6 separate regions of the Homo sapiens genome follow, and all the other regions are linked to region 1. The links are contacts of gene promoters, found by promoter capture Hi-C in blood cells and fetal thymus (Javierre and others, 2016). All regions are on one chromosome and are shown on one strand. The core of a region is centred on a gene start or on the middle of the fragment in contact, and the rest is flanking DNA. Distances in the headings are between cores, read along the strand shown.

What was found. The method cuts DNA at HindIII sites, captures the fragments that hold promoters and counts their contacts. A CHiCAGO score of 5 or more calls a contact.
Region 2: a fragment that was not itself captured here is called in contact with the fragment with the promoter of AFG2B in region 1 in 3 of 17 cell types (naive B cells, activated CD4 T cells and total B cells); the score reaches 7.5 in naive B cells.
Region 3: a contact is called between a fragment that was not itself captured here and the fragment with the promoter of AFG2B in region 1, in 1 of 17 cell types (M2 macrophages). The highest score is 7.5, in M2 macrophages.
Region 4: a fragment that was not itself captured here is called in contact with the fragment with the promoter of AFG2B in region 1 in 1 of 17 cell types (total B cells); the score reaches 8.1 in total B cells.
Region 5: a fragment that was not itself captured here is called in contact with the fragment with the promoter of AFG2B in region 1 in 2 of 17 cell types (monocytes and total CD8 T cells); the score reaches 6.2 in monocytes.
Region 6: a fragment that was not itself captured here is called in contact with the fragment with the promoter of AFG2B in region 1 in 1 of 17 cell types (M0 macrophages); the score reaches 5.9 in M0 macrophages.

What each region holds. Positions count from the first base shown.
Region 1 is chr15:45,400,579-45,404,271 of GRCh38, forward strand. AFG2B (AAA ATPase AFG2B) reads left to right here and starts at 1,758. Exons shown (of 8, transcript NM_024063.3): 1 at 1,758-2,940. The coding sequence starts at 1,852. It also overlaps a transcript of GATM not described here. RefSeq lists enhancers at 1,211-1,260, 1,271-1,340, 1,731-1,890 and silencers at 1,971-2,050, 2,441-2,590. The HindIII fragment of the contact is 3,246 bases long and covers 283-3,528 here.
Region 2 is chr15:45,105,800-45,109,559 of GRCh38, forward strand. DUOX2 (dual oxidase 2) reads right to left here. Exons shown (of 34, transcript NM_001363711.2): 11 at 3,725-3,760; 12 at 2,990-3,153; 13 at 2,248-2,423; 14 at 1,546-1,664; 15 at 1,033-1,170; 16 at 729-842; 17 at 326-528; 18 at 1-29. Among named protein-coding and RNA genes, the nearest start is that of DUOX2, 6.5 kb to the right of the region's middle. The HindIII fragment of the contact is 3,201 bases long and covers 1-2,952 here.
Region 3 is chr15:44,970,211-44,973,913 of GRCh38, forward strand. It overlaps TERB2 (telomere repeat binding bouquet formation protein 2), which reads left to right. Exons shown (of 7, transcript NM_152448.3): 6 at 3,657-3,703. It also overlaps the pseudogene LOC100187725 and the pseudogene RNU6-966P. Among named protein-coding and RNA genes, the nearest start is that of TERB2, 15 kb to the left of the region's middle. RefSeq lists a silencer at 1,844-2,022. The HindIII fragment of the contact is 1,011 bases long and covers 758-1,768 here.
Region 4 is chr15:45,024,975-45,028,891 of GRCh38, forward strand. The region is part of intron 1 of SORD (sorbitol dehydrogenase); the gene reads left to right. Among named protein-coding and RNA genes, the nearest start is that of SORD, 3.7 kb to the left of the region's middle. RefSeq lists a silencer at 734-1,022. The HindIII fragment of the contact is 1,429 bases long and covers 1,314-2,742 here.
Region 5 is chr15:45,703,195-45,706,990 of GRCh38, forward strand. LOC105370802 (a long non-coding RNA gene) reads left to right here and starts at 2,001. Exons shown (of 5, transcript NR_135680.1): 1 at 2,001-2,095. The HindIII fragment of the contact is 2,150 bases long and covers 425-2,574 here.
Region 6 is chr15:45,666,738-45,670,920 of GRCh38, forward strand. It overlaps SQOR (sulfide quinone oxidoreductase), which reads left to right. Exons shown (of 10, transcript NM_021199.4): 4 at 3,191-3,244. Among named protein-coding and RNA genes, the nearest start is that of SQOR, 34 kb to the left of the region's middle. The HindIII fragment of the contact is 2,092 bases long and covers 773-2,864 here.

The sequences.
Region 1 (3,693 bases), core at 508-3,007:
GACCAACCAAAAGCAACATGTAGTTTCCTTCTCATCATATTCCTAATAGCATAGTTTGTGCCTCTGTTTTAAACCAATTCAGAAAATTTTGAGGCCGATTTAACTTTATTGGCTCCCTGTTTTGGCTTTGGTTATTCCACTCCATTAAACCTTTACTTCTTGGCCATTTCTGCACTGTAAATATAAGTAAATCTACTAACTCTTTTACATGAGATCCCTTTACATATTTAAGACAGTTATCCTGTCCTCAGTAAGTCTTCTTTCCCTCTCCCAGATCCTTAAAGCTTCTTGGAGCTGAATAGAAGGAACTCGATGAGGTACAGGCTTCTGATAAAATAACTTGATAGGCATGTAATTCACACCTTTAGGGGTCGGTAAAAACGATGGCTTTTTTTTTATTTCAAAAAATGCAAAGCTGTTATTTAAAAGTCCCCAAACCAAAAAGAACTGAAGCCAATGGGATTAAGAGGAAAAAAGAAAACAGGAAGTAATGGGTGACTTATCCATTTCAAGACCTCCTCCTGCTATTTTCTGATTCCTAAATTGTTCCAGAATCGATTTAAGCAGACAAGTACAGCTGAGACCAGGTAAGTTACTGTCAAGTCAAGAAGTCTGTCATGTCTGCCATGAAGTTTGGACAGAATGAGATCAGGAACTGGCATGGGTCTTAAGATCCCAGATCTGACAGTACTTCCCATTGATAAGATATTACTACACAGTCTGTAATTGATTATTTGCATAGATAGAAAAAAAAAACTTCCCAGCAACTTAAGCACTCTAAAATATCAGTTTTGTCAACTCACAAATTTGGGTTGCAGTGAAAGTGGGGAAAATAGAGGTAGGAAGATGTAAGTCAAATAAAAACAAGGTATATCTTCTTGTCTTTGAGTATCTGTAGTTCTTTTTTAACGGCAATTAAGAGGGATAGAAAATGTATTCCAGCTGATAAAAAGGAATTCCCTGTGCGAAAGGGAAAGGCAGAAAGCAGCTGGAAAAAAAAAATAGCAGGCAGTTGTCTTAATAACGTAGATAGGTATCGCCTCTAATACAGGACTTAGTACTGTTGTGCCCCAATTAGACAGTAAGCATTGATCGCATGAACTTTAGTGATTAACTTGTTGCCAAAGAATATTCAAAAGAATATCAGAAATCAGAACAAATGTACTGTTGGTGTGCTACAAATCCATCAGGTAGCCTAGTTTTCCTTCTTTCCTCTCTACAAGGGATTTTAAGCGCTACCGTGTGCTTCCCTCCCACTATGCTGGTACTTTCCCATAGGAAGGGTTGTGCCTGGACCTCCCAGATTGGAACCCCGATTACCGAAGGTCCCAAGGCTGTATTCTCAGTTACGCCAAGTCACCTGAGACATTTGCACCAGAGCACCCAAAATTCTGTGCCCATGCGGATAGTTAGAGTTTCTTCACAAAATAGCAAAGTCTCTAGGTTGCTATTCCAACGGCGGTAGTACTGATGCTCCAGTTCGAAGGCCAGGAAAACAGAATGTAAAGCCGGTGACTTCCAAGATATATGTAACCACCAAAGTACATGCTTAATGACCTAGTGAAGTGAGCTTAAGCCGCCTCCCAGACACCTGTAACGAAGACCATCTCGGGAAAGCTCTGGGTTAGGCAACTCGATTTCACGAAAGCGGACACCAACGCTCTACCCAGAGGCCCGAGCGTCGTCTAACGTTTCCATTGGCCCTTTCGGCCTTCACTCAGCTGCTAGCAACGCAGTCTGCCCTAGCGCATGCGCGCAATCTGCTTCCGGCCTGCGAGCTCGGTGTTCCGCTTTTTGTGGGCCGGGTGGGTTTCCTAATCTGGTTTCGTCTGCCTGGTTCATCTGTGTGCGATGGCTCCGGACTCGGATCCCTTCCCTGAAGGGCCGCTCTTAAAGCTGCTACCCTTAGACGCTAGAGACCGGGGCACCCAGCGCTGCCGCCTGGGCCCGGCCGCCCTCCACGCCCTGGGCGCGCGCTTGGGCTCGGCAGTGAAGATCTCGCTACCCGACGGCGGCTCCTGCCTCTGCACTGCCTGGCCTCGGCGGGACGGAGCGGACGGCTTTGTGCAGCTGGACCCGCTGTGCGCGAGCCCCGGGGCGGCGGTCGGGGCGTCGAGATCCCGGAGGAGTCTCAGCCTGAATCGCCTCCTCCTAGTGCCCTGTCCGCCCCTGCGGCGCGTCGCCGTGTGGCCGGTGTTGCGAGAGCGGGCAGGCGCGCCCGGTGCCCGGAATACAGCCGCGGTGCTGGAGGCGGCACAGGAGCTGCTGAGAAACCGACCGATCTCCCTGGGCCACGTGGTGGTCGCTCCGCCAGGCGCTCCTGGCCTGGTGGCTGCCTTGCACATCGTCGGCGGGACGCCCAGTCCCGATCCCGCTGGGCTGGTCACCCCTCGTACCCGCGTCAGCCTTGGCGGGGAGCCTCCGTCGGAAGCCCAGCCGCAGCCCGAGGTGCCCCTGGGAGGTCTTTCGGAGGCGGCCGACTCGCTGCGGGAGCTCCTCCGCCTCCCGCTCCGCTACCCGCGCGCCCTGACCGCGCTGGGCTTAGCGGTGCCTCGCGGGGTGCTCCTGGCGGGGCCCCCCGGAGTGGGCAAGACCCAGCTGGTGCGGGCCGTGGCGCGCGAGGCGGGCGCGGAGCTGCTGGCAGTCAGCGCCCCGGCGCTGCAGGGTTCCCGGCCTGGGGAGACCGAGGAGAACGTGCGGCGGGTCTTCCAGCGCGCCCGGGAACTGGCCAGCCGCGGACCCAGCCTCCTCTTCCTGGACGAGATGGACGCCTTGTGTCCCCAGCGGGGCAGTCGAGCACCCGAGAGCCGCGTAGTGGCCCAGGTGTTGACGCTGCTGGACGGCGCCAGTGGGGACCGCGAGGTCGTGGTTGTGGGAGCCACTAACCGGCCGGACGCTCTAGACCCAGCGCTGCGTAGGCCCGGGAGATTTGACCGAGAGGTGAATGGGCTTGGCGGGTTTGCCCACTGTCGGTGGAACCTCGGCCGCTTCTGGCGCCATTTGGCTGCCCCGGAGGCGTTTGCCTCTTAGGTTTGAGCATCGGTGAGGTTGGAGTTGGGGCTCTTTGCAATGCAGAGAACACGTTCTCTGCCGATATATGATCTGTGAGTCAGGACCTGTATTTCCCCAGAGTCAAATTGTCAGGACCTGTGAGTCAGGATCTGAGAGTCAGGACCTGTTTCCCCAGAGTCTAATTGTTTTGGGAAGCGAGGTGTCCATTACAGATTAATTTTGTTGTGCAGGTCCTATAATCAGTAATGTTAATTCTTAAGAGAATTTTGGTCACCTACAAGCGTGTTAAACTCATTTTTTGGAATGAGAATTTAAAGAAGGATAGCCTCAAGAAGTAAGTGTGTTGAAATAAAAAGGGAGAAGGTGGGGAAGAACTAAATGGAAGCAGGCATTAACTCTTCTGGATTTATTCATTCCTTGTCATAACACCAGCATCCTATTCCACAATTGAGGAGGTACCCACAACTGCTCCCTGAGTTGTCAGGGAGGTTGAATATTCAGAGCTGTCCTATTTTAAGCTTTGGTCCTAAATTGACTTGAATTCTAAAGAACAGTTTGAAATTTAGTGACTGATATTTCTATTTTGTGATAGGATTCAAAAGAGAAATGATAATTACACACTTTTAGCTCAGTTAGTTCAGGACTTGAGTGGATTTCTTCCTTGCACTATCTAGTACCTGT
Region 2 (3,760 bases), core at 102-2,601, 300 kb before region 1:
CGTTCCTCTTCAGAACTAAACAGCAGCACCTGGGTGGGAGGAAGGCGGCACTGACGCAGGGAGCTCGCTGGACCTTCTGCTTCAGCCTCCCCTCAATGGATCTTGGGTTGAGGGGAGGAGAGAAAACTCCTCCCCATCCATCCAGGCTGGGGCCAGGTGTGTGGACGAAGGGGGTCAGGTTGTGTCTGGGGGCCTCTGAAAGGAGCCCCTCTCCCCAGCATCAGCTGTCATAGTTGAGCTCTGTAGCTGAGGATAGGGTGGCCTCGCTTGTGATAATGGAGTCGTGTGAGGGCAGCCCAGGCTGGGGAGGCAGGACGAGCCATACCAGGTCATACTCCTTAGGGATCTTGAGCAGCAGGGTGCGGCATCCTCGGTTGTTGGACAGGATGAGGTTGACCTGCTGCAGAGGCTGCAGCTGGACCACACGGAGCACAGTGAGATGCCTGTTCAGGACCTGCAGACACCTGTCTGACAGCAGCTGGATGATGATGGGACTGCTCCTCTCCTTGGGGCCTGGCCACTCCATCGCTGGGGAAGGGATAATTGGGCCGGGTAGTTCAGCAGATGTCCCCAGGTCCCCGCCTTCAGGTCAATTCCTCTGTGAGTCTGAGCAGGCGCCCTAAAGGTGCCTTGGCTTTCCTCTCACTCTGTAACTTGGTTCTTTCTCCCAGACTCCTGTCTCTCCCCTCCTCCGTCCCTCCTCCCTCCTCTGCCCAGCCCCTGCTCACCTGGCACTCCATCTTTGGCTGCTTCCTTCTTCACGCTCTCTTTGAGTTTCTTTTGTAGCTTCTTGTGTTCTCGGCCCCGGAAATAGGCCACCACTCCAGAGAGAAGCAGACTCACTGAAGTGGATCAGAAGGAACAGTGAGGAGGGAGCCCCTCACCTAGAGCTCCACTGTGGCTTAGGCTATGGCCCCTCCCTTCCAGAGGTTCCTTGAGCCTGGTCTCAAACGGTACCAAATAGCCAGCCCCTCAGGCCAGCAGGAAATGAGGGGCAGGGCCAGTCTGCAGAGAGGCTGCCTAAGAGCTCACCTAAGGGAAGGCAGCAGAGAGCAATGATGGTGATGGCAAAACCAGGGCTGCTGCCTTCAAAGAAGTCAAGCACAGTCAGGGGTGCACACTGGGGCAGGCCGTCAGTTGTGAGCTGCTTAGGTTGAGGGCAGGGTGCACCTGAGGGAGAGGGCAGGGAAGACCTCAAAGTCTGAGGATCCCGCTATGTGGCCAGACCTCTTTCCCCTCTATCCTATAAAGGACCAAGGTATCATCTGTCTTCCCCAGGCCCACCTCCCTGAAACTGTCTCCCTCAAAAAGTCCCCATTCATTTCCTGTCTCTTGGCATCTACCCCATCCACCCCTTCTTGACTGTAGGGTGTAGCTTGTGTGCTAGTTGAGGTCCCTGCTGTGGGAGCCAGCCAAATGCAGGCCTCCTAGCCCAACACAGAAGGTGCCTGGCTCCCTGGACAGCACCAAGTGATTCCCCCGCACCCTCAATCTTGATCCTTCTCTGGCCACTGTCACTCACTTGTGTTCTCCCACGGCACTCACCTTTATGCCAGACAAAGACATTGGGCTGCAGGGCACTGGGGTCAATGTTGATAACAGCGACCAGCACGTCCCGCAGGGTGGTATTTCGGATGTCTTCAATCTCCTTCTTGGAGAACAGCCTAAGTTGGAGGAAGTAGAAGTCACTGGGATGGGAAGGGGATGCAGGCCTCCAGCAACCCCAGGCCCAAGGACCCAGGTGAGAAAAGAGACCCAGAGGGGCTGGGTGCAGTGGCTCATGCCTGTAATCCCAACACTTTGGGAGGCCAAGGCGAGTGGATCACTTGAGGTCAGGAGTTCGAGACCAGCCTGACCAGCATAGTGAAACCCCATCTCTACTAAAAATATTTTTTAAAAAAATTAGCCGGGCATGTTGGTGCATGCCTGTAATCCCAGCTACTTGGGAGGCTGATGCAGGAGAATCACTTGAACCTGGGAGGTAGAGGGTGCATTGAGCCAAGATCACGCCACTGCACTCCAGCCTGGGTGACAAAGCTAGACTCTGCCTCAAAAAAAAAAAAAAAAAAAAAAGAAAAAGAAAAAGAAAAAGAGAAGAGAAGAAAAAAAGAGAGACCCAGAGGGGTTGGGAAGGGTGTGGTGGGCTGACTGGGAATCAAGGGCTCATAGGGGCTGTCTAAGGCTAGACAGAGGGTCTGGGGCTCAGGCTGAGGAGCAGTCTGAGGTGGGGGCCCAGGCAAGCCTTACCCATTCCTGGTGTTCTCAAACCAGTAGCGGTCACCATCCCGCAGCCGTACAAACTGGTCGAGGACAATGGCACTGAACAGGGGTCCAGGGTCCCCATGGCTCTCCAGGAGCCCCCCAAGGAGCAGCTCTAGCTGGGATAGGTCCTGGTTGTACAGGGCAGCTGTGGCCTCCAGCACCTGGGGCACCACAGGAGATAAGGGGTGAGCGTATGTTTGCTGCGGAGGGCAGCCACTGTTGCCCCATCCCTCGGGCACAGAACCTCAGCCGCTGCCTGGCTGCTGCTCAGGCCTGATTTCCTCTTCTTAGGCAAGCCCCCTCAGGCAGGACAAGTCTGGTGGAAGGATCAGTGTGTCCCTACCCACGGTAACACCACGGTCAGGTGCCCTAGGACCATATCCTGTGACCATCACCAGCCTGCCTGACCTCAATGATTAGCAGCTTCAGGGGCACACAGCCCTTGGGGTGGGACCCTGCAGCAACAGGACAATGGCACCCAACCCAGAAGCCACCCTGCAGGAATGGTACAATGCAGTGGTTAGGAATATATTCTGGAATCAGATGGCTGAATTTAAGTCCCTCCTCTATGATTTACCAACTATGTCATCAGTAAAATGGGGAAAATGATTATACATACCTTACAATATTATTATGTAGATTAAATGAGTCAACATATGTAAAGGGTTTGGAACAGTATTGCCATAGGAAAGCTTTAGCTGCCATTATTATCATTACTATTCCTGACCTGGGGGTCCACATTAGGGTTGAGATCACTCCAGTTCCTTGGGATGTCCAGCCCAAAGGCCAGCAGGGCCTGGCTATAGCTGGGCAGCCCCATATCTCGGCCACGTTGGATGCTGCTGGCCACATAGTCTGTACGGGAGAATTTGCCAGGGCCAGGCCAGTAATCTGAAGAGGAGAGAAGACTAGACTATGGGCTTTGTCCTCTCCATCCTTTTTTGCCCTGCAGCCTTGTATCTGACTATTGGCACTACGGTTCTTCCCTCCTGGCTACCCCCAGTGATCCACATGAGATCTGTGCCCATGCTGACCTTGCCTTGCTGCAAGGCCAATGTCACCATGGGTGATCAGAGCCAGTTTTTCCAGTAAGACCCTTCCTCTAAGACTCAAGACTGTTCTAGTCACCAAGCAGTAAATTCCCTGTCCTATGCCTCCCTAGTTTCAAGACAGGGCTGAATGAAAACCTTTAGAGACCTAATTAAGCACCAAAGAGATTGTGGTACCACCCCTCCCCAATACTCAGACATAGTTAATTTAAAATAAAAGCAACACAAAAGTGTAAATTAAGCAAAAAAAAAAAAAAAGTTCAAAGTTCATTTTCTTCTTATGGCTCCTTGAAGTCTGTGTTTGTATCTGTGTTCCTGCATCGTGAGCGCCCTAGGTCTGCTATTGATGAACCCAGAGGGATCCTCAGGCTTCCTGGTCCCTTACCATCCACCCCTTCTGGCTCTGAGCTCACCCCTCAGATCTTCAACCACTATGTTGTCCTCCAACT
Region 3 (3,703 bases), core at 13-2,512, 430 kb before region 1:
AGGAATGGCTCTCTCATTATCTGTCCGTGATTGGAGGACTGCTTTCTCTGATAAAACCTTTATATCTCCTGGTAAAGAGGAAGATGTAGTATAAAAAAGAACTTTGCCATTTGGTCAGGGAAGGGGATGTCTTGTGTATGTTGCAGTAAAATTCATCATGTGCAGTTTTGTGCTGTCTTTCCAAGGGTCTTCAATGCATCTTACTGAGGTGCAGGCTTTCTTGATTGCAGTTGGGGTTTCCAGTTTTCTTAATAGTTCAGCTAGCATTTGAGTCACCAGATATAAATTAGACATTTATCTCTTCAGTTGCCAGTATACATTCTGTGTATTATCACTTGAAGTTCTTACTCTTCAGAGATCTCTGCTCTTCAAGATTGTCTTCCTCATACAGATAGGTTTGTTTGGTTTTTGAGTAGTTCTATTTTGAGATCGTTACCTTCTTTCCTCATCAACTCTTGTTCCAAACCGTGGATCTTCAGGTTACAGCTTAACTTTTCCACCTCCCAGTTTGATGAAGGTGGATTGAAATTCCTCATCACCAGCTGAGTTTCCACCTCTGTCCTTAGCTAGAGTTCTACTTCTTTAGATTGCATCTGTTTATTCAATACTTTTAAAGATTCAGAGTTGTGTTTACTCATTTTATCCAATTTGCTCTTTAAATCATCTCTCAATGCAAATCTTTCAATATACAGAATAGGCCTTATTTACTTGTTGGTATTCCACAAAACTTGTTTCTTCATCTAATTGAGCTCCTATAAGCTTTTCTTCCAAAAATCTAATTCTTTTCTTTAACATAAGATTTCTCTTTCTCTGAATCCTTAAGTCCTTTTTTGATGTCTTCATATGGGCAAATTGGGAAGCAACAGAAGCATCTCCTCAATATGTTGAAACTGGAGTTGCTGGGGTTTTCTCATAATTTAGCATACAGGTGTCACCTTCTATCAGTGCATCCATGAGAGCCTGAAACCAGGCTACTTAGAGCCGCCACGGAGTTTCCATTCCCTAATGTTTAGAAACAGCCAAAAACAGATCGGGTTGCCAGGGATCATCACGGGTTCAGATTTCCCTGAAGATACCTCCACTTAACCAGCGAAAGCAGCCACTCTGAGTTATTGAAATGAGGATATTGGTCTTATATCTACCCATTTGGAATTCCTTAAGATTCTAAGGATATTTTAATTGATTCTAAGGATATTTTAATCGATTCTCTCTTGGCTCTTCAGGGTGCACAGTCATATCATTTGTTAATAATGAAAGTATTCCAGCTGGGTGCGGTGGCTCACGCCTGTAATCCCAGCACTTTGGGAGGCCCAGGCAGGCGGATCACGAGGTCAGGAGATTGAGACCATCCTGGCAAACACAGTTAAACCCCGTGTCTACTAAAAATACAAAAAATTAGCCAGGTGTGGTGGCGGGTGCCTGTAGTCCCAGCTACTTGGGAGGCTGAGGCAGGAAAATGGCCTGAACCTGGGAGGCCTGAGCTTGCAGTAAGCCAAGACCATGCCACTGCACTCCAGCCTGGGTGACAGAGCAAGACTCTGTCCTCCGAAAAAAAAAATAGTAAAATAAAATAATGAAAGTATTCCTTCTTTCACAACATCTCTTCCTTTTCATCCCCCCCCCTCCTTTTTTCCCTTTATCTCTTATTGTTTGGCCAGAATTAAATAGTGGGTGGTCCCTGACTTTTCTGGGAACACAATTTTGCTTTATTTGTAGGACCTCATCCTGATGAGTAGAGTTTCTTTTGGGAGAGTTTAAATGAAATAGAAGCTTTTTTTTTTTTTTTTTTTTTTTTTGAGACAGAGTTTCGTTCTTGTTGCCCAGGCTGGAGTGCAATGGCGCGATCTTGGCTCACTGCAACCTCCGCCTCCCAGGTTCAAGTGATTCTCCTGCTTCAGCCTCCTGAGTAGCTGGGATTACAGGCATGTGCCACCACGCCTGGCTATTTTTTTGTATTTTTATTAGAGACAGGGTTTCACCATGTTGGCCAGGCCGGTTGTGAACTCCTGACCTCAGGTGATCCACCCGCCTCGGCCTCCCAAAGTGCTGGGATTACAGGCGTGAGCTACTGCACCAGGCCTTAAAAATGGAAAATAAAGCCTTTGCTATTACTCAGTGTACTTCTAGATTTTTAGGAAAATAATAAATTTAAGGATGACTCCAATTTTTAATTATTGAGGTTTTTATTTTTATACAATTATATTGTTAGTTATATGTGATCTAAGTATAGTAAACATTGTCATTTTTGAATAGTGACTGTTCAAAACATGAATGAAAATAGGATCTTTTAGTTGAGATCCTTTTAGCTTTTTTTTTTTTTTTGAGACAGAGTCTGGCTCTGTCACCTAGGCTAGAGTTCCAGTGGCGCCATCTCAGCTCACTGCAACCTCCACCTCCCAGGTTCAAGCAATTCTCTTGCCTCAGCCTCCCGAATAGCTGGGATTACAGCTGCTCGCCACCACACCTGGCTAATTTTTGTATTTTTAGTAGAGACAGGGTTTCACCATGTTGGCCAGGGTGGTCTCAAACTCCTGACCTTAAGTGATCCGCCCACCTCTGTCTCCCAAAATGCTGGGATTATAGGCGTGAACCACTGTTCCTGGCCACCTTTTAGCTTTTAAAAATAAGAATATACATTTTTTTAGATTTTATAATTGTATAATTAGAACATCAATTGTTTTTTTTTTTTTGAGGTGGAGTCTCGTTCTGTTGCCCAAGCTGGAGTGCAGTGGTACGATCTTGGCTCACTGCAACCTCTGCCTCCTGGGTTCAAGCAATTCTCCTGCCTCAACCTTCCGAGTAGCTGGGATTACAGGTGGGTGCCACCACACCCAGCTGATTTGTATTTTTAGTAGAGATGGGCTTTCACCATGTTGGCCAGGCTGGTCTCGAACTCCTGACCTCAGGTGATCCACCTGCCTCGGCCTCCCAAAGTGCCAGATTTACAGGTGTGAGCCACTGCGCCTCGCCTAGACATCAGTTTTTATTTGTTATAGTAAACTATGGAAATACTAGTTAATAGATGCCCAATTATTTGAATACTAACAAACATGTTGTGATCATTTAAAATAGAATCTACTATGCTTTTCTTTTGGCAGATTTAATACTGTATATGTATATGTGTATTTTGTCTAAATATATAGTATTGCATTATTGTACTTTCAGGGATATGGAGAAAAAGACCCAGGACTCTATAGACTCAAATACTTGTTTTGTGAAGCGGCTAAGAACACTAGAATATCTATATGGGTCTTTATATTACTTAAAAGCACAAAAGAAGTTCATAATTAACATTTTCACCCATTAAGACTGAAGTCTGATCAAAGAGCAATTAAATTACTATATATGTGCTCACTTTGACAGCACATATACCAAAACTGGAACTATTCAGAGGTTAGCATGGCCCCTGCGCAAGGATGACAAGCAAATTTGTGAAGCATTCTATATATTTTTAAAAAATCACTATATATATTGCCTGGAATAAGTTCTTACTTGTAAAACAAATCCAAATATATACATATGTGGTATAGTATACTATAGTAAAGGTAATTATGTATTATAAATATTTATTTATAAATATACTTTAATATAAATGTAATACATATAGACATATATATACTATGTATGTGTGACTTTCTGTATGCTTTATTTTACAGCCCAGAAAAGCATTTTATAAGAACTCCAGTTGTAGAAAAGCAGATGT
Region 4 (3,917 bases), core at 778-3,277, 380 kb before region 1:
TTCATCTTACCTCAAACTCATGGTCTTCCACTGCTCAGGCAGACTACCTCTACTATGGTTCCGTAGACAAAGCTTTGAAGATTAGAGCAGCAGCGAACTAACCTTGATCTCATCAGCTTTGCATTAGAACCCACTCTCTGACTGGATTAGGGGCTAGGTTGGGGTGGCTGTAACCTGAAGTATCTAGAAAATATGATGGGCTAGAGAATTTCACCTTTGGTTGTGTGCTGGAACACTAGCTGGGTAAAAGAGTTCAGAGGAGGATTTAGGAAAACACCTAGGCTCAGTTTGAGAATGGGAAGTGGTAGCGTCATTTACTAGTCAGAGTAGATTAAAATGATGAGATCAGGTTTGAAAAGTTGAGTTTAAGATGTCTCTGGAGGCCAGGTGTGGTGGCTGATGCCTGTAATCCCAGCACTTTGAAAGGCCAAGGTAGGCAGATCGCTTGAGGTCTGGAGTTTGAGACCAACCTGGCCAACACGGTGAAACTGTCTCTACTATAAATACAAAAATTAGCTGGGTGTGGTGCCACATGCCTGTAATCCCAGCTACTTGGGAAGCTGAGAATCGCTTGAGTCTGGGAGTCAGAGATTGCAATGAACTGAGATCGTACCACTGCACTCCAGCCTGAATGACAGCAAAACTATGTCAAAAAAAAAAAAAAAAAAAAGATGTCTCTGGGACAGGACACAAGGTGCCTTTGAGAAATTTCCTTGGGTGCAGGGGTCTGGAGTGCAGGGATACTATCAGGGGTGGAAATGTAAACTCAGGAGTCCTTTGCTCCTCTACTGAGCAGTACTGCACTGCCCCGCCACCCAGGAGACATTTGGAAATGTGTCAGGGAGGCTTGGTTGTCACGATGACTGAGGAGCACTACTGCGGACTTTATTCAGTTCATAGTGCTATCTTGCACAACAAAGAGTTGTCCTGTCCCAAATAGTGCCCTATGGGGAATTATGGATGGCTGAGCTTGCCTGGGCTGAGTGAACCATGTAGAGTGAGAAGGAAAGAAGAGGAGGACATTACCCTGGAGAGAGCCCCAACACTGGAGGGGAAAGGGCAGAAAGAGTTGTCAGCAGAGGAGACCCACTGTGCTGCCTCAGGTGCACCTGCAGCTCAACACAGACCTTCTGGGCCCTCGCCACTCCTTCTCAGGCATGGTCTTCCACCAGCACCTCCACAGTGCCCAACCCAGACCCCGAGTGTGGTATCACTGCTCCTCCATCTTTTCCTTAAGACAAATAGGCTCAGTGGCTTGGGTTTGGGGTCAGTAGTAAACCAGAGATAGCAACTAGGAGGAACAATCCTGGGGAAGCTTTGAGGGGAACCACCCATTTTCCTCTCTGCAAGAGGACCAAAATGAAACCCAGAATTTCCTGGGCTTAATAAATTGTCAGCAAATGCATTTTGGGGGGAAAAAAGCCTTGGTTGGATATGAACTACAAAAAAGATAAGAGGAAGTGGGGAGAATTTGACTGTTTTCTTCTTTTGATGTAAGACCACCAGCCACAGATTAAAAACCCTTCCATTTCTGGCTGGCTGGGGAACTGCAGCCCAGCAAACTGTGGCCGATTTAGGTATACAGGGGGGCAGGGTCTACTGATAAAATGGTTCAGTGCCTCAGGAACTCCTATGAAGGGAGTTGTTTGGGGAAACTCTCATTCCTAAGATCTTTTCAAAAAATGTATAAATTTTCAAGGGAAAAGTGTATCATTTAACTTACATCATTATTTGCTTTCCAAAAAGTGTATAAATCATTCCTAAAATCTGAAGCAGGTTTCCAAAGCATTCTGAAGCAGGAAGCAATGTCTCAACCTTTCCCACTGCTGCCATCCTACTTGAGATAAGGCCAGGAACCAGCCAGCGTCTGGGGCAGTGGTTCTGTGGGGGAATGCGACCTTAGTCCACTTTACTTGTCCTTTAACTGGCAGGAAGGAAACCTACCACACAGCCTCCCTACTGCCTAAGGAGACTGCACCATTCTCTTCTTTCTTGATGTATGGCTGCACGGAACAAAAAATTAAACTCCTCACCTACTAATTAGTTAATGATCACCTTGACCACAGCAAGGAGGAGCATTTATAAATTGGGTGGTAAGTCAGACACACACTAAGACCAGTGGTTTTCTTTTATAGTTAGGAGAACAAAACGAAACAACAATCTGAGACTTAAGGATTTTCGCTTTTCCCTTCATTTTGAATAGAGAAAGTTTGAGAGTTGGAGGGAGGAAAAGGGACTGATGACCAAGTTGATGTATAAAGAAGCAAACAGTGTCAGCTTGCTGGGGTTCTCTCTAAATGGAAATAGTACGAAGTTCCCAAACCAGGCTGGGGAGCCAGAGTGGGGTTTAGTCCCCCTTCTACTGCTGCTAGTTGTATGACTCAACAAATTATTTTCCACTTCAACTTCCCCGTGAAATGGGGATAATGGTAGTATTCATCTTTGGTTGTATGAGGATTCAGTGGAACCAATTGTGCGTGTGAAAGGCCTAGCACAGCATTTAGCACACTGTTAATGGTATGTGCTAACTGTGGAGATAAGCAGGAAGCCAGAGCCCCTGAGGACGGACACTTAAACCATATCAGCTTAAAAAGAGGTGGATGGAGACCAGGGCCTTCAAACACATGAACAGTTTTCCTAACCAAATTATTATAATGTGGGCCCAGGCAATAATCTTGCTTTCCACTGTATTTACCAGTTTAATTACTGTATGCCCCTTTGATCAGTCTATTGAGACCCAGAAGCTTTTAATTAGGAAATGAATTATGGATTCATGAAGTTAGAATATAAAATAGTCAAATTAGTTTTTACCCCATAGAAGCTATGTTTGGTGGTGGGGGTGGTGGGAAGCTTGTTTTTACAATGTAGGGTTCACTCGAATGGTAAGGAAATGCGGGGAATTAATATATTGACTGCCTACTGCATTCCAGGCATGTGCTGGGAACTTTAATACAGGGCTTTACAAACTGTCCACAATGAAGGGCCAATTTTACTTTTTCCAGTCGGCCATGGACTGATATGTTTGCATCAATATATTTGAATGCTGTGTCACGTCAAAATGCTATAAACAGCCAGGCACGGTGGCTCATGCCTGTAACCCCAGCACTTTGGGAGGCCAAGGCGGGCAGATCACTTGAGGCCAGGAGTTTGAGACCAGCCTGGCCAACATGGCAAAAATCCTGTCTCTACTAAAAATACAAAAATTAACTGGGTGTGGTGGTGCACAACCTGTAATCCCAGCTACTCAGGAGGCTGAGGCACGAGAATCACTTGAATGGGGAGGCAGAGGTTGCAGTGAGCCAAGATCATGCCACTGCACTGCAGCGTGGGTGACAGAACAAGACTCTATCTCAAAACAAAAACAAACAAAAAAATTATATAAACATTTCTAAATGCTCCTCTCAATTTCTGTACATTGCATTACAAATCAGTTCATCAATCACCCTCTGAGTGCACTTTATCTCCCTTCTTCCTGAAAGCTGGCTCTTCCTTCAGGCAGGAGCATCTGAACAGGGAGAAGTATAGGAACAAAACAGGCTCCATTTCCAGGAAACAACACCATGGAGGGGATGTAGTCAGATTTTTGTTATGATCAGCTATATGAGGAGACAATAAATTAAAGGGAAAAATAATAATTTCAGAATGATGGGTTAATGTTGTTTAATTATAAAGGGCAGAAAAATTAATATATTGGCATCAAGTTTAAACATTACTCGGAGGTCCATGAAGATATTTCTTGAGTTTTTGTCCATTGAGGCAACGTATTATACCTTAGGTCAAAAGAATTGCTTTGACCTAAGCATTTTTAAATACTCTTATTTATTTTTAAAAATAAGATAAATCTATATCTGTAATACAGCACATTCAAAATGTCTATACTTTACTGTTAAGATTTTGGGGTGAGAAGCGGATGGTAT
Region 5 (3,796 bases), core at 250-2,749, 300 kb after region 1:
TGTGTTTTGTTATAGTAGCTCAAGCTGATTAAAAAAGTATTTGAATGGTTGTGGTTAAGATGAAACTTTTCTAGAATTCAACTTACAAATTTAGAAAATGGCTGCTATTTATGATTAGAAACAACATGTTCATTGTCAAAAGTCCTGACACATTTGCAAGATAACATGGCAAAGGAGAAGTAGAACTGAGATTTGAAATCTCTCCCAGTGTCTTGGGAGAACTTGTCGATGTCAGTATTACTTCGGAGTTCTTTTCCTGTTCAGCACTGTCCTATTTCTGCTTAGGTAGTAAAGGAAAGGGGAGAAATGTATTTGTCTAAATTATTTCACTTGCCAAGTAGAAATAAATAAATAAAAATAAAACTTTCATTGGTTTAAGTATCTAGGAAGTCTGGGAAGGAGATCAAGCATGGGTGGATCAAGAAGCTTAATTTCTTAATTTCTTGACCTTTCAGCTCTGACTTTCTTTGTGTTGGTTTCTTTCTCAGGTAGACTCACTTCATATGTTGACCAAGTGGGCCTGGGCAGGGTTAGACTTTCCTGGTCTAGAGCCCACAGACCCAGAGACAATGCCTCTTTTCTGTTAACAGTAAAAATCTGGTGAGAACTTTGAGGATTCAAGCTGGGTTTGTGAGCTTCCCGGAACCAGTCATGTGCTCATCCTTGAAGGAGAGGATTAGGTCAGCCATGTGTGAGCCACATGGACCGAGAATGGGTGTAGGTGTGGGGTTTAAAAACCCACATTTACTACAAGGATAGGAAGGTGGACACATCCTGTCTTCTCCATTAACAGTGTTAATTTATTCATTCATTCTACAATTAGCAATCGCATGGGGCCTGGCCGACTGCTGAGGTTCCTCAGGTGAGTAAGACGGGCTCCAGCCTTGGAGGAGCTTCCAGTCTAAGGGAGCCCGAGTTCACAGAGAGGGTCCCCTAGGACACTGGCACGGCATCCTGCTGGCCAGGAAAGGGAACTGCTGCTCCTCCAGAGAGGATAGGTGGGTTTGTTGTTTTTTTTTTTTTTGCCAGAGAACACCATGGTTCCTGCCAGCACCTGCTTACGACAGCCCTTTCAACGTCGCAGGGCTTGTCAGTGGGTTCTGTGACAGAACCGTGCAAGTAATGGTACGCGGAGAGGGCGCGCGAAAGCGCCTGGCTCGTTCCTGGAGCCCGGGCTGCGGACGCCCCCTGCGTGCTGCGAAACCTGAGGGGTCTCGGTCCTTCCTGGCCTTTTATAGGCCGTGCCTAGAAACGCTTGGCTTGACCAGTTAGAAGTAACGCCACGCTGTGAATGTTTACCACCTGCGCACTGTCAGCGCTGAGTAAAGGGGCCCGAACCCCCGGTTCCAGGAGCCCCTGCTCGCCTCTCCAGCCACCTTCCCACCAGCCCACAACGCACAAGGACCACAGCTTCCAGAGGCGCCGTGCGCTCTCTTTCCAGGCGCTTTCCCCCTGCTGGAATGCTCCACCCCTTCCGCTCGGCGAACTCCTATTCATCCTTCTGGACTCCTTCCCAGAGCTAACTACAGACCTGAAAGATTTCTTCTTCTGCGCTCTCAGGGAACAACAGTCCTTAAAGTCCAGCTCACGCTGCTGTGCTGCAGCGTCGCTCTCGGTCCCCTCCACTGCACTGGGTCTCCCCACTGCACTGGGCCCCCTCTTCACTGCACCCGGCCACTCCACCGCACCCGGTACCCCGGCCCTCTATGGCACCCAGTTCTCTCTCCTCGGCACCCAGTTCCCCGCCCCCACCTCCGCCCCAACGGCACCCAGTCCCTCGCACCCAGCACCGCCCCCGTCCCTCGCACCCAGCACCGCCCCCGTCCCACCAACAGCACCCAGTCCCCCCGCTCCGCCACGGCACCCAGTCCCCTCAGGGCACCCGGTTCCCCGCCTCCGCCAAGGCACCCGGTTCCCCGCCTCCGCCAAGGCAACCGGTCCCCCCCCCCCCCGCCCCCCGCTACGGCACCCAGTCCCCCGACGGCTCTCGGTCTCCTCCACGCCGAGCCTCGGAGAGCAGGGGCTTTGCTTTTCCGGCTGAGGTGTTCAATAAACATCTCTTAAACAAAGGAGTGCGCAAGTGAGATAATATAAGGTAAGTGCTTGCCACTATACGAATGTACAGAAAGGAAGATGTTATTATTTTACTTCAGCCCCATATTTAATTATAAAGCATTTGTGAGCAAAGCTGATTAACACTGATTTCTAATTTCTAGCGTGAGACATGACGCTTGGGAGACAAGCTGTAAATGAGACGTGGGGCTTATGTTTTCGGTAGGTGAGATTTAATGTACACAAGGGTAAGAGTAGGAAACAAAAGTAATTCGAAGTTAAATATGGTCTTTTTGGTTAAATTCTACGGGTTCTGGGAGGAGGGCAATACCATTTCCTGCTGAGGTGAGTTTGCTCACCCATTGCCATAATCACAATCGTAATAAAAATAACATTAATAACTACAATTGATCGAGCTCTTTGAGGCGGACATCGGGTTAGGCATTTTGGATCCAATTTCTCATTTAATCCTCACGACCATCTTGAGGGAGCGCATTTTACCCGTGTTTTACGGGGGACTGAAGCTTAAGGAGCAGTAACTTGCCCAGGTCACGTGGCTAGGAAGAGACAAGGTCAGGTCAGAGCCACAAGAGGGCGCTCTTCCCCTTTCTATTCTATGTTGTCCTGTGGTTCCCGCTTTTCCTCAGGGGCACCTTCCACAAATGTAAAAACCCCACATAAACATCTTGTTTCTCTGTCTTCCTCCTCCCCAGTGTCTCTCTCTCCTCTCAGTCTGTTTGTCTCCTCTCAGTTTCTCTCTCCCTTTCCTTACTTGTTTTTTGTCTCTCTCTTCCTCCTTGTTTTCTGTTTATTTATCTATTTCAGGGGATGGGCAGCCTTGGGAATATGGGCTGTAGGTAGGAAGAGAACATTTCTGGAACTGAAAATTATGCTGCATCTTGTCTAACGGGAAGCAAAATTTTTGAATGTGGGAATCTTGTAAAATCTAGACGTTGGTCATCAATACACATGGCATGAAACTGTAAAACTATGAGCAGCTGTGGTGAGTTGTGACTGGGAAGCCACATGGGGTGTGTATGAGCACATGCATTTGCAAGCTTCCCTGGAGCTTCCTCCAGGTTACTCCTGGGTTCTGCCTTTCCCTGGTTACACTTAGGATTGAAGCCTCATTCACCTCTGTGTATTTGCTCATGCTTTTCCTGTCACTGGTGTTAATTTCTGTAGTCTCTCTGCATGTTTAACTAAATTCTACCTCTTTTTTTTTTTTTTTTTTGAGACAGAGTCTTGCCTGTTGCCCAGGCTGGAGTGCAGGGGTGTGATCTCAGCTCACTGCAACTTGAGTCTCCCAGGTTCAAGCGATTCTCCTGCCTCAGCCTCCTGAGTAGCTGGGATTACATACAGGTGCACACCACCACGCAGGGCTAATTTTTTCTTTTCCTTTCTTTTTGTTTTTTTTAGACAGAATCTCGCTCTGTTGCGCAGGCTGGAGTACAGTGGTGTGATCCGGGCTCACTACAACCTCTGCCTCCCAGGTTCAAGCGATTCTTCTGCCTGGGACTACAGGTGCGTGCCACCATGCCCGGGTAACTTTTTTTTGTATTTTTAGTAGAGATGGGGTTTCACCATATTGGCCAGGCTGGTCTCGATCTCCTGACCTTGTGATTCGCACCCCCCCCCCGCCACCTTGGCCTCCCAAAGCGTTGAGATTACAGGCGTGAGCCACCGCGCCGGGCCTAATTTTTTTATTTTTATTTTTAGTAGAGACGGGGTTTCACTTTGTTGA
Region 6 (4,183 bases), core at 569-3,068, 270 kb after region 1:
TTCCCTCCTCTCCTCTCTCCTCCCCTCCCCTTCTCTTCCCTCCCCTCCCCTTCTCTCCCCTCCCCTCCTCTCCTCTCCCCTCCCCTCCTCTCCTCTCCCCTCCCCTCCCCTCCTCTCCTCTCCCCTCCCCTCCCCTCCCCTCCTTTCTCCTCCTCTCCCCTCCCCTCTCCTTTCCTTTCTCCCATCCCCTCCCCTCTCCTCTCCTTTCTCCCATCCCCTCCCCTCTCCTCTCCTTTCTCCCCTCTCCTCCCCTCTCTTTCTTCCTTCTCCTTCCCCCTCCCTCCCTCCCTCCCTTCCTTCCTTCCTTCCTTTCTTCCTTCCTTCCTCTCTCCCTCCCTTCCTTCCTTCCTCCCTTCCTCTCTTTGTCTCCTTCCTCCCTCCCCTCCCCTTCCCTCCTCTCCCCTCCCCTCCCCTCCTCTCCCTTCAGCCTTGCTCTGTTGCCCAGGCTGGAGTGCAGTGGTGAGATCACAGCTCACTGCTCCTTGAACTCTTGGGCTCAAGAGTTCTGAGCCGATCTACCTTAGCCTCCTGAGTAGCTGGGACTACAGGCACACACTACCATGCCCAGCTAATCTTTTAAAAAATTACTATGAAATGTCTATTTAGTAGTTGAGTCTAGAGTTTTGCAAAGGATTAATAGCCTATTTACTAAGATGTTCGTGTCAGAGTTTACGTCTTCTGACCCCTGTGTAATATGAGAATACTTGCAGATATTCAGCCTTCTGGCAAGGTCTACACTGTTGTGCGTAACTGCTCAAAAGTCTTGTCTATAAGCTTTTGCTGTTCCTGGGGGTTTAGGTCATCTGACCTGAAAACTTGAACTCATTCAAAAGGCTTGAGGTTTTCTTCTTGCTTTCTTGCTATGGAGGGTTTATTCTCTCTTAATGATTTTTTCCCCATAATCTTAAGCTGGCATGTTTTTAGTCCTTAGACATAATGAATATTATGCTCTAATAAAATAGAGCATAATCAATATTATTTGCATCATGTTTGGTGGTGGCCTGCACAAACCAAAAGCTCCTCTTGTTTCCAGTGGTCATATGTTTCACCTGTAGATCATCACTACCAGACCCCATGCTAGCTCTTACCTAATATGCCCGGATTGCTCAACATGGTTTGGCCGGCCATTTAACGGGCCTGGTGCCCTTTCCTACAGAAGATGGAATTTCAATACATCATCTTTCTTTATTTCTTTCTTTCTTTCTTTTTTTTTTTTTTTTTTTTTGAGATAGAGTCTCTCACTGTCACCCATGCTGGAGTGCAGTGGCGTGATCTTGGCTCACTGCAACCTCTACCTCCTGGATTCAAGCAATTCTTCTGCCTCAGCCTCCTGAGTAGCTGGGACTACAGGCGCCCGCCACCATACCCAGCTAATTTTTTGTATTTTTAGTAGAGACAGGGTTTCGCTATGTGGGCCAGGCTGGTCTCGAACTCCTGACCTTTTGATCCACCCGCCTCAGCCTCCCAAAGTGCTGGGATTACAGGCATGAGCCACTGCACTGGCCAAGACATCATCTTTCTATGGATAGGCAAAACATACAGATGAAAATGCTTATATTATCTTCCACTTAGAGAAATTGTACTTTTCACAAGCAACTGAAATCATTCATCTATCCATTCACCCACCAAACATTACAGAGTTCCTCACTTTAATTTAGTGACTGTGCTAGATTCTAGGAATGTAAGGAATAAGACATAACTTTTATCCTCTAGGAGTGGTCAGTGTGCTGGGGAGAACAAGTGCTAGGAAGCCTCATGCACACTATGCTGGGGAGCTCCTGGGAGGGGCCAGTGGTGAGGGTGATCGTGTCATAGTGGGAAAGCCTGCTGTGGAGGTGGCTTTGGGGCTGAAGCTCCCGGATGCCAGGGCAGGGCCTCTTGACTGCACGTTACTTCCCTTGGCTCCTCAGCCAGAGCCAAGCACTCTCAGGTCTTGGAGTCCTCTCTCTCCAACTGCGATTCGCTCGGGTTGCTTGCTCTGCTCTGCCATTTAGTACAGGATCATGGTAATCACCACCTGTTTCTTCTTTCTGGGCTCCTGAGTCTCACTGCAATCATTTCCTAACTCCAGTTTTCTAGGCAAGTTCTTGTACTTTACGGCCACTTTGTTTACACTTTTTGGCCTAAACTTGTCTTCCTCTTTGTCCTAAACCCACATTTCCATCATGCTACTTATGCATACAATACCCGTATTTGAAGAAGGGACTTTTTTCATCCCATACAGGTCATTAAATAAGATCAGGTACACTATGTCATAGCCTTTCAATGACCTTGAGATTGCTCAAAAGAGCAATCTCCCAATTACGATATTGGTCCAATCCACATGACAGGTCAGACTTGCTTGGGACTCACATATTACCCAATAGATTTTAGTTTTTTATTTTTAATATACAATATACTAATATATATTTTTTATATATATATTTTTTATTTTTTTTTAATTTTTTTTTGAGACAGGGTCTCACTCTATCAACAAGGCTGGAGTGCAGTGGTGTGATCTCTGCTCACTGCAACCTCCACCTCCCAGGCTCAAGCGATTCTCCCACTTCAGCCCCCCTGGGGACTACAGGTGCATGCCACCGCACCTAGGTAATTTTTGTATTTTTTGCAGAGACAGGGTTTTGCCATGTTGCCCAGGCTGGTCTCCAACTCCTGAGCTCAAGTGATCCACCTGCCTCGGCCTCCCAAGGTGCTGGGATGACAGGTGTGAGCCACTGTGCCTGGCCTACCCCATAGATTTTAGACAGTGGATTGTCTTTTAAGATTAGGAAGCCCTTCTCTTACCTCTCAATATGAAAAAGTGTTAATACAAGCACTGTACAAATAATTGTGGCCTCTCACTGTGTAAACACATAGCTGTCTCAAGCTTTCTGGGGCTAGGCAGCTTACAAAATATTTGTGAAGCAGTGAGGTGTGAGGCATAGACGGCAGAGGGCATGATGGGAGTGGACACGCATCCCTCCCTGCCAGTCTGCCCACCTCCCCCAGCCCCAAGACATTCAGATTAAAAAATGGGAACCTGGGCAGGACTCCCAACCTTGTTCTGCTTCGATTTTCTCATCTGTTCTATGGGCTAATAATATTTCCCTGCCTCCCTTAGACCACATGGAACCACATCTGGGGCCTGAGTCAGTCCTTGAGTTGATGCTTCTTGAGTCCTGGTCTAAAATAATGTCTTTTTGTGTTGCAGATCTCCTACCGATATCTTATTATTGCTCTCGGAATCCAGCTGGACTATGAGAAGGTACCGTGTGAAACTGTTTCTGTGTTACGCTGGCTTATCTATGCCAAGAGCAAATGCTGCATTTAGTTGCTTTATTATATTCATTTTGACAAGAAAGGGGTTCTAAGAAAATCTCTTCTGGTTTTATTTCTTGGCAGTCCTTTTACAGTTTTAAGGAAGTCTTCTCTAAGATTCTGTCGATAATAACCATATGTTCTAGCTTTAAGCTTTAATTAGAGTTCAGCATGCTCATGCCTTAATGATTAATTCTTGCAAAACAGCAGTTTTCTTTCCACATTTGTAAGAAACATGTCTTTCTATGTGGGACAGAGTTGGCTGTATTGAAGATTACATTCCGCTTTGGAAGTAGGGTTTAGATTATAAATTTTAAAGCAGACTTTAAGGGGTGGAACACCAGCAGTTAGCTCGTCTGTTGCTGGAGGGACATCTGGGTTTTGTTGTGTCGATACTGGGTTTTTAGTGTGAAGTAACCGATGCAATGGAAATGCCACTCAGAAGTTCCTCAGATCCCCGTTTTCAGTGAGCTAGGGAGCCAGATGCAATTTGAAAGTTTTGAGATTCAACTTCATTTTTCTAAAACATAGCAGAGTAAATCGGTAAATATTATCATTTCCAGAAGGTTGTTGGGGACTACAGATAAATAGTTGGAGTACAGGAAACATCTGTGCTAACCGGGTAACAAGCTTCAGGAATGTGACCTGGGCAAGGGCCTCAACAGAGTTGGCCCAGTAAGAATCTTTGAAGTGTGTTGAATTGTGTCATGTCCAGGGGAAGGGTAGTGAAAATGTCTTGGGTTGTGTTGTGGGAAAGTTCAGAGAAGCTACAAGTTGTTGTGAATGTTGTAAGATGGTTTTGAGTCATGGTGCCATGGGTCGTGAGTCTGTTAGAATGACAGACAAGCTATGAAGTAGACGATATGGAGAAAGGTGTTTATTACAA